Regions from separate parts of the Homo sapiens genome. Here region 2 is linked to region 1. Evidence: promoter capture Hi-C in human tissues and cell types (Jung and others, 2019). All regions are on one chromosome and are shown on one strand. Each heading gives the region's core, a stretch centred on a gene start or on the middle of the fragment in contact. The rest is flanking DNA. Distances are from core to core; before and after follow the strand shown. Region 1 holds the start of C9orf72 (C9orf72-SMCR8 complex subunit). Region 2 overlaps LINGO2 (leucine rich repeat and Ig domain containing 2).

Region 1 (3,434 bases), core at 670-3,169:
CTTTTCTTTATAAATTACCCAGTTTCAGTTATTTCTTTATAGCAGTGTAAGAATGGACTAACACAATTATTAACGCTAGTCCTCATGTTGTACATTAAATCTCTAGATGTATTAGACGTAACTGCAACTTTGTACCCTACCCTACAATTTTCTTTCCCCCCAAGCCCCCCAACCAAGGGTCTACTCTGTTTCTATAAATTCAGTTGTTTTTTAATTCCACGTATAAGTGAAGTACAACTCAGTGTAGAAACTTGGTAAATGCTAGCTACTTGTTATAAGCTGTCAGTCAAAATAAAAATACAGAGATGAATCTCTAAATTAAGTGATTTATTTGGGAAGAAAGAATTGCAATTAGGGCATACATGTAGATCAGATGGTCTTCGGTATATCCACACAACAAAGAAAAGGGGGAGGTTTTGTTAAAAAAGAGAAATGTTACATAGTGCTCTTTGAGAAAATTCATTGGCACTATTAAGGATCTGAGGAGCTGGTGAGTTTCAACTGGTGAGTGATGGTGGTAGATAAAATTAGAGCTGCAGCAGGTCATTTTAGCAACTATTAGATAAAACTGGTCTCAGGTCACAACGGGCAGTTGCAGCAGCTGGACTTGGAGAGAATTACACTGTGGGAGCAGTGTCATTTGTCCTAAGTGCTTTTCTACCCCCTACCCCCACTATTTTAGTTGGGTATAAAAAGAATGACCCAATTTGTATGATCAACTTTCACAAAGCATAGAACAGTAGGAAAAGGGTCTGTTTCTGCAGAAGGTGTAGACGTTGAGAGCCATTTTGTGTATTTATTCCTCCCTTTCTTCCTCGGTGAATGATTAAAACGTTCTGTGTGATTTTTAGTGATGAAAAAGATTAAATGCTACTCACTGTAGTAAGTGCCATCTCACACTTGCAGATCAAAAGGCACACAGTTTAAAAAACCTTTGTTTTTTTACACATCTGAGTGGTGTAAATGCTACTCATCTGTAGTAAGTGGAATCTATACACCTGCAGACCAAAAGACGCAAGGTTTCAAAAATCTTTGTGTTTTTTACACATCAAACAGAATGGTACGTTTTTCAAAAGTTAAAAAAAAACAACTCATCCACATATTGCAACTAGCAAAAATGACATTCCCCAGTGTGAAAATCATGCTTGAGAGAATTCTTACATGTAAAGGCAAAATTGCGATGACTTTGCAGGGGACCGTGGGATTCCCGCCCGCAGTGCCGGAGCTGTCCCCTACCAGGGTTTGCAGTGGAGTTTTGAATGCACTTAACAGTGTCTTACGGTAAAAACAAAATTTCATCCACCAATTATGTGTTGAGCGCCCACTGCCTACCAAGCACAAACAAAACCATTCAAAACCACGAAATCGTCTTCACTTTCTCCAGATCCAGCAGCCTCCCCTATTAAGGTTCGCACACGCTATTGCGCCAACGCTCCTCCAGAGCGGGTCTTAAGATAAAAGAACAGGACAAGTTGCCCCGCCCCATTTCGCTAGCCTCGTGAGAAAACGTCATCGCACATAGAAAACAGACAGACGTAACCTACGGTGTCCCGCTAGGAAAGAGAGGTGCGTCAAACAGCGACAAGTTCCGCCCACGTAAAAGATGACGCTTGGTGTGTCAGCCGTCCCTGCTGCCCGGTTGCTTCTCTTTTGGGGGCGGGGTCTAGCAAGAGCAGGTGTGGGTTTAGGAGGTGTGTGTTTTTGTTTTTCCCACCCTCTCTCCCCACTACTTGCTCTCACAGTACTCGCTGAGGGTGAACAAGAAAAGACCTGATAAAGATTAACCAGAAGAAAACAAGGAGGGAAACAACCGCAGCCTGTAGCAAGCTCTGGAACTCAGGAGTCGCGCGCTAGGGGCCGGGGCCGGGGCCGGGGCGTGGTCGGGGCGGGCCCGGGGGCGGGCCCGGGGCGGGGCTGCGGTTGCGGTGCCTGCGCCCGCGGCGGCGGAGGCGCAGGCGGTGGCGAGTGGGTGAGTGAGGAGGCGGCATCCTGGCGGGTGGCTGTTTGGGGTTCGGCTGCCGGGAAGAGGCGCGGGTAGAAGCGGGGGCTCTCCTCAGAGCTCGACGCATTTTTACTTTCCCTCTCATTTCTCTGACCGAAGCTGGGTGTCGGGCTTTCGCCTCTAGCGACTGGTGGAATTGCCTGCATCCGGGCCCCGGGCTTCCCGGCGGCGGCGGCGGCGGCGGCGGCGCAGGGACAAGGGATGGGGATCTGGCCTCTTCCTTGCTTTCCCGCCCTCAGTACCCGAGCTGTCTCCTTCCCGGGGACCCGCTGGGAGCGCTGCCGCTGCGGGCTCGAGAAAAGGGAGCCTCGGGTACTGAGAGGCCTCGCCTGGGGGAAGGCCGGAGGGTGGGCGGCGCGCGGCTTCTGCGGACCAAGTCGGGGTTCGCTAGGAACCCGAGACGGTCCCTGCCGGCGAGGAGATCATGCGGGATGAGATGGGGGTGTGGAGACGCCTGCACAATTTCAGCCCAAGCTTCTAGAGAGTGGTGATGACTTGCATATGAGGGCAGCAATGCAAGTCGGTGTGCTCCCCATTCTGTGGGACATGACCTGGTTGCTTCACAGCTCCGAGATGACACAGACTTGCTTAAAGGAAGTGACTATTGTGACTTGGGCATCACTTGACTGATGGTAATCAGTTGTCTAAAGAAGTGCACAGATTACATGTCCGTGTGCTCATTGGGTCTATCTGGCCGCGTTGAACACCACCAGGCTTTGTATTCAGAAACAGGAGGGAGGTCCTGCACTTTCCCAGGAGGGGTGGCCCTTTCAGATGCAATCGAGATTGTTAGGCTCTGGGAGAGTAGTTGCCTGGTTGTGGCAGTTGGTAAATTTCTATTCAAACAGTTGCCATGCACCAGTTGTTCACAACAAGGGTACGTAATCTGTCTGGCATTACTTCTACTTTTGTACAAAGGATCAAAAAAAAAAAAGATACTGTTAAGATATGATTTTTCTCAGACTTTGGGAAACTTTTAACATAATCTGTGAATATCACAGAAACAAGACTATCATATAGGGGATATTAATAACCTGGAGTCAGAATACTTGAAATACGGTGTCATTTGACACGGGCATTGTTGTCACCACCTCTGCCAAGGCCTGCCACTTTAGGAAAACCCTGAATCAGTTGGAAACTGCTACATGCTGATAGTACATCTGAAACAAGAACGAGAGTAATTACCACATTCCAGATTGTTCACTAAGCCAGCATTTACCTGCTCCAGGAAAAAATTACAAGCACCTTATGAAGTTGATAAAATATTTTGTTTGGCTATGTTGGCACTCCACAATTTGCTTTCAGAGAAACAAAGTAAACCAAGGAGGACTTCTGTTTTTCAAGTCTGCCCTCGGGTTCTATTCTACGTTAATTAGATAGTTCCCAGGAGGACTAGGTTAGCCTACCTATTGTCTGAGAAACTTGGAACTGT
Region 2 (3,654 bases), core at 1,154-3,653, 510 kb before region 1:
CAATATGTAATTTATTGAGCGTTTTTAGCATGAAGGGCTGTTGAATTTTGTCAAAGGCCTTTTCTGCTTCTATTGAGATAATCATGTGGTTTTTTGTCTTTGGTTCTGTTTATATGTTGGATTACATTTATTGGTTTGCGTATGTTGAACCAGCCTTGCATCCCAGAGATGAAGCCCACTTGATCATGGTGGATAAGCTTTTTGATGTGCTGCTGGATTCAGTTTGCCAGTATTTTATTGAGGATTTTTGCATCGATGTTCATCAAGGATATTGGTCTGAAATTCTCTTTTTTTGTTGTGTTTCTGTCAGGCTTTGATATTAGGATGATGCTGGCCTCATAAAATGAGTTAGGGAGGACTCCCTCTTTTTCTATTGATTGGAATAGTTTCAGAAGGAATGGTACCAGCTTGTTCTTGTACCTCTGGTAGAATTTGGCTGTGAATGCATCTGGTCCTGGACTTTTTTTGGTTGGTAAGCTATTAATTATTGCCTCAATTTCAGAGCCTGTTATTGGTCTATTCAGAGATTCAACTTCTTCCTGGTTTAGTCTTGGAAGGTGTATATGTCCAGGAATTTATCCATTTCTTGTAGATTTTCTAGTTTATTTGCATAGAGGTGTTTATAGTATTCTCTGATGGTAGTTTGTATTTCTGTGGGATCGATGGTGATATCCCCTTTATCATTTTTTATTGCATCTATTTGATTCTTCTCTCTTTTCTTTTTATTAGTCTGTTAGCAGTCTATCAATTTTGTTGATCTTTTCAAAAAACCAGCTCCTGGATTCATTGATTTTTTTGAAGGGCTTTTTGTGTCTCTATTTCCTTCAGTTCTGTTCTGATCTTAGTTATTTCTTGCCTTCTGCTAGCTTTTGAATGTGTTTGCTCTTGCTTCTCTAGTTCTTTTCATTGTGATGTTAGGTTGTCAATTTTAGATCTTTCCTGCTTTCTCTTGTGGGCCTTTAGTGCTATAAATTTCCCTCTACACACTGCTTTAAATGTGTCCCAGAGATTCTGGTATGATGTGTCTTTGTTCTCATTGGTTCAAAAAACATCTTTATTTCTGCCTTCATTTCATTATGCACCCAGTAGTCATTCAGGAGCAGGTTGTTCAGTTTCCATGTAGTTGAGCAGTTTTGAGTGAGTTTCTTAATCCTCAGTTCTAGTTTGATTGCACTGTGGTCTGAGAGACAGTTTGTTATAATTTCTATTCTTTTACATTTGCTAAGATGTACTTTACTTCCAACTGTGTGGTCAATTTTGGAATAAGTGTGATGTGGTGCTGAGAAGAATGTATATTCTGTTGATTTGGGGTGGAGAGTTCTGTAGATGTCTATTAGGTCCACTTGATGCAGAGCTGAGTTCAATTCCTGGATATCCTTGTTAACTTTCTGTCTCGTTGATCTGTCTAATGTTGACAATGGTGTGTTAAAGTCTCCCATTATTATTGTGTGGGAGTCTAAGTCTCTTTGTAGGTCTCTAAGGACTTGCTTTATGAATCTGGGTGCTCCTGCATTGGGTGCATATATATTTAGGATAGTTAGCTCTTCTTGTTGAATTGATCCCTTTACCATTATGTAATGGCCTTCTTTGTCTCTTTTGATCTTTGTTGGTTTAAAGTCTGTTTTATCAGAGACTAGGATTGGAACCCCTTCCTTTTTTTGTTTTCCATTTGCTTGGTAGATCTTCCTCCATCCCTTTATTTTGAGTCTATGTGTGTCTCTGCACATGAGATGGGTCTCCTGAATACAAGCACACTGATGGGTCTTGACTCTTTATCCAGTTTGTCAGTCTGTGTCTTTTAATTGGAGCATTTAGCCCATTTACATTTAAGGTTAATATTGTTATGTGTGAATTTGATCCTATCATTATGATGTTAGCTGGTTATTTTGCTCTTTAGTTGATACAGTTTCTTCATGCTTGGTCTTAATCCCGTGCTAAAGGCTCTATTTCTGTGGTCTTCCATATGTTGCACAATATGTGTTTCTGTCAGTACCCAGAGGACTTAGACCTGGGATATACCTACATTTCATCCACGGATCCCAAGGTAGGGGAGAGGGATGAGGGAAGAAAACCAGAATCAGATGGAATGCAGATTACTATGGTGTTTGCAAAGGAAGATCTTGGTTTTAACATTTTGCTTTTATCAGGGTAGTCTGGCAATGAAGGCCAGAGTCTAAAGGGCATAGCAGTCTTAGCCATGGTCCAAATGTATATACTAGAAGCAGGTCCAATGTGTTGCCTTGTATGTAACTGAACTTCAGGTGCCATCACTTTTTCCATTTATGTACCCATTAGTTGTACTAAACCATTATATGTGTGTGTGTGTGTGTGTGTGTGTGTGTGTGTGTATAATTATATATATATAATCTTATTTCTTCATCTCCTCAAACCCTATGCAGGAGGTATTGTTATCCCAATACTATAGATAAGAAAACAGATGTTCAGATTAATTAAATCTCTTATCCGAAATTAGTTAATGGCAGAGCCACGATTTGAACTCCAAAATCTGTTCCTTTAAATTGCTTCACTGGACATCCAAATAGCATGAACTGTCAAGGAATAGTATGGTTATCAGAACAGATGCCTATTATTCTGTACTGAGTCATTATATTATAGTGATTGGGAATGCTGAAACCAAAGAGTTTCTTTTACTGGTACTAAAGTATCTTAGGTAGCCATGGAGGAAATTGTGGCTATTGAAGACTAGGAGCTATCTCATGGGTTACTCATGTTACAGGACTGGAAATGTGAACACACAAATCTGGAAATATGTACCAATGAAATGCTAATTCCCATAAGATTGTCTCAGGAATTAGGTAAGGGCCACTGGTGTACTTGGCTCAAAGCAGCTGGCTGAGTTGTGAGAGGGGGCATGAAAATGGAAATGCATGTTGAGTATGTGGCATATTCCTGTATCTGGGTGCTGAACACCACACATAGGGATCTATTTCATGATCATTCCAGGAAAAGATTCCCCAGATAGGACCAAGAATGAATGAAGAATGAAAGAATCTCACCCTAAGTCACAGGTAAACTTTCAATCTTAGGGAACTCAAAAGAAAAATAATTTTCTCATGAATATATTTTACTTATATTTCTGCTTAGAGGTATTCGTTTTTACCCTTAAGGGAAATGTTAATTAATAGTGATGATTAGAATGAAATATTGGTAAAACACATATTGTTTTAAAAGTGCTTTTTCTTCCTATACAGTTTATCTCTTGTTACAAAAATGCTGTATAACAAATAACCCCAAAGCAAGTAATTTACAATAAAACCTCATGAGTCTATGGGTCAGCTGGGCACTTCCAACAATCTAGTCTGGGCTCAGTTAATCTCATCTTATCTCTGCTGGAGTATCATATGCATCTGTAGTCAGCTGGCAAGTGGACTAGGAGCTAACTGGTCTGGGATGGCCTCAGCTTACATGACTTGGCTCTCCTGTTTATGCTTTCTTTTCTTCAAAAAGCTAGTCTGGACTTGTCCAAAGGTACAGCAGAGAGTGATTAGAAGCATGCCAGGCCATGTGAAGCCTGGGCTTGAAACTGGCACATTGTCACACAAGTCTAACTCTGATCCAAAGGTTGGAAAAATAGACTCTTGTCATGAAAATAACTTCAAAGTCATATTGTGAGTGCTGTGGATACAGGGAAAG

Evidence for each region. Contacts are between HindIII fragments. The study calls those that stand out against the background at their distance.
Region 2: a fragment that was not itself captured here is called in contact with the fragment with the promoter of C9orf72 in region 1 in 1 of the 25 tissues and cell types used here (mesendoderm cells).

What each region holds. Positions count from the first base shown.
Region 1 is chr9:27,571,966-27,575,399 of GRCh38, reverse strand. C9orf72 (C9orf72-SMCR8 complex subunit) reads left to right here and starts at 1,919. Exons shown (of 11, transcript NM_018325.5): 1 at 1,919-1,969. RefSeq lists enhancers at 1,310-1,837, 2,436-2,525 and a silencer at 1,846-1,925. The HindIII fragment of the contact is 8,764 bases long and covers 1-3,434 here.
Region 2 is chr9:28,086,898-28,090,551 of GRCh38, reverse strand. The region is part of intron 6 of LINGO2 (leucine rich repeat and Ig domain containing 2); the gene reads left to right. Among named protein-coding and RNA genes, the nearest start is that of C9orf72, 520 kb to the right of the region's middle. The HindIII fragment of the contact is 5,233 bases long and covers 1-3,654 here.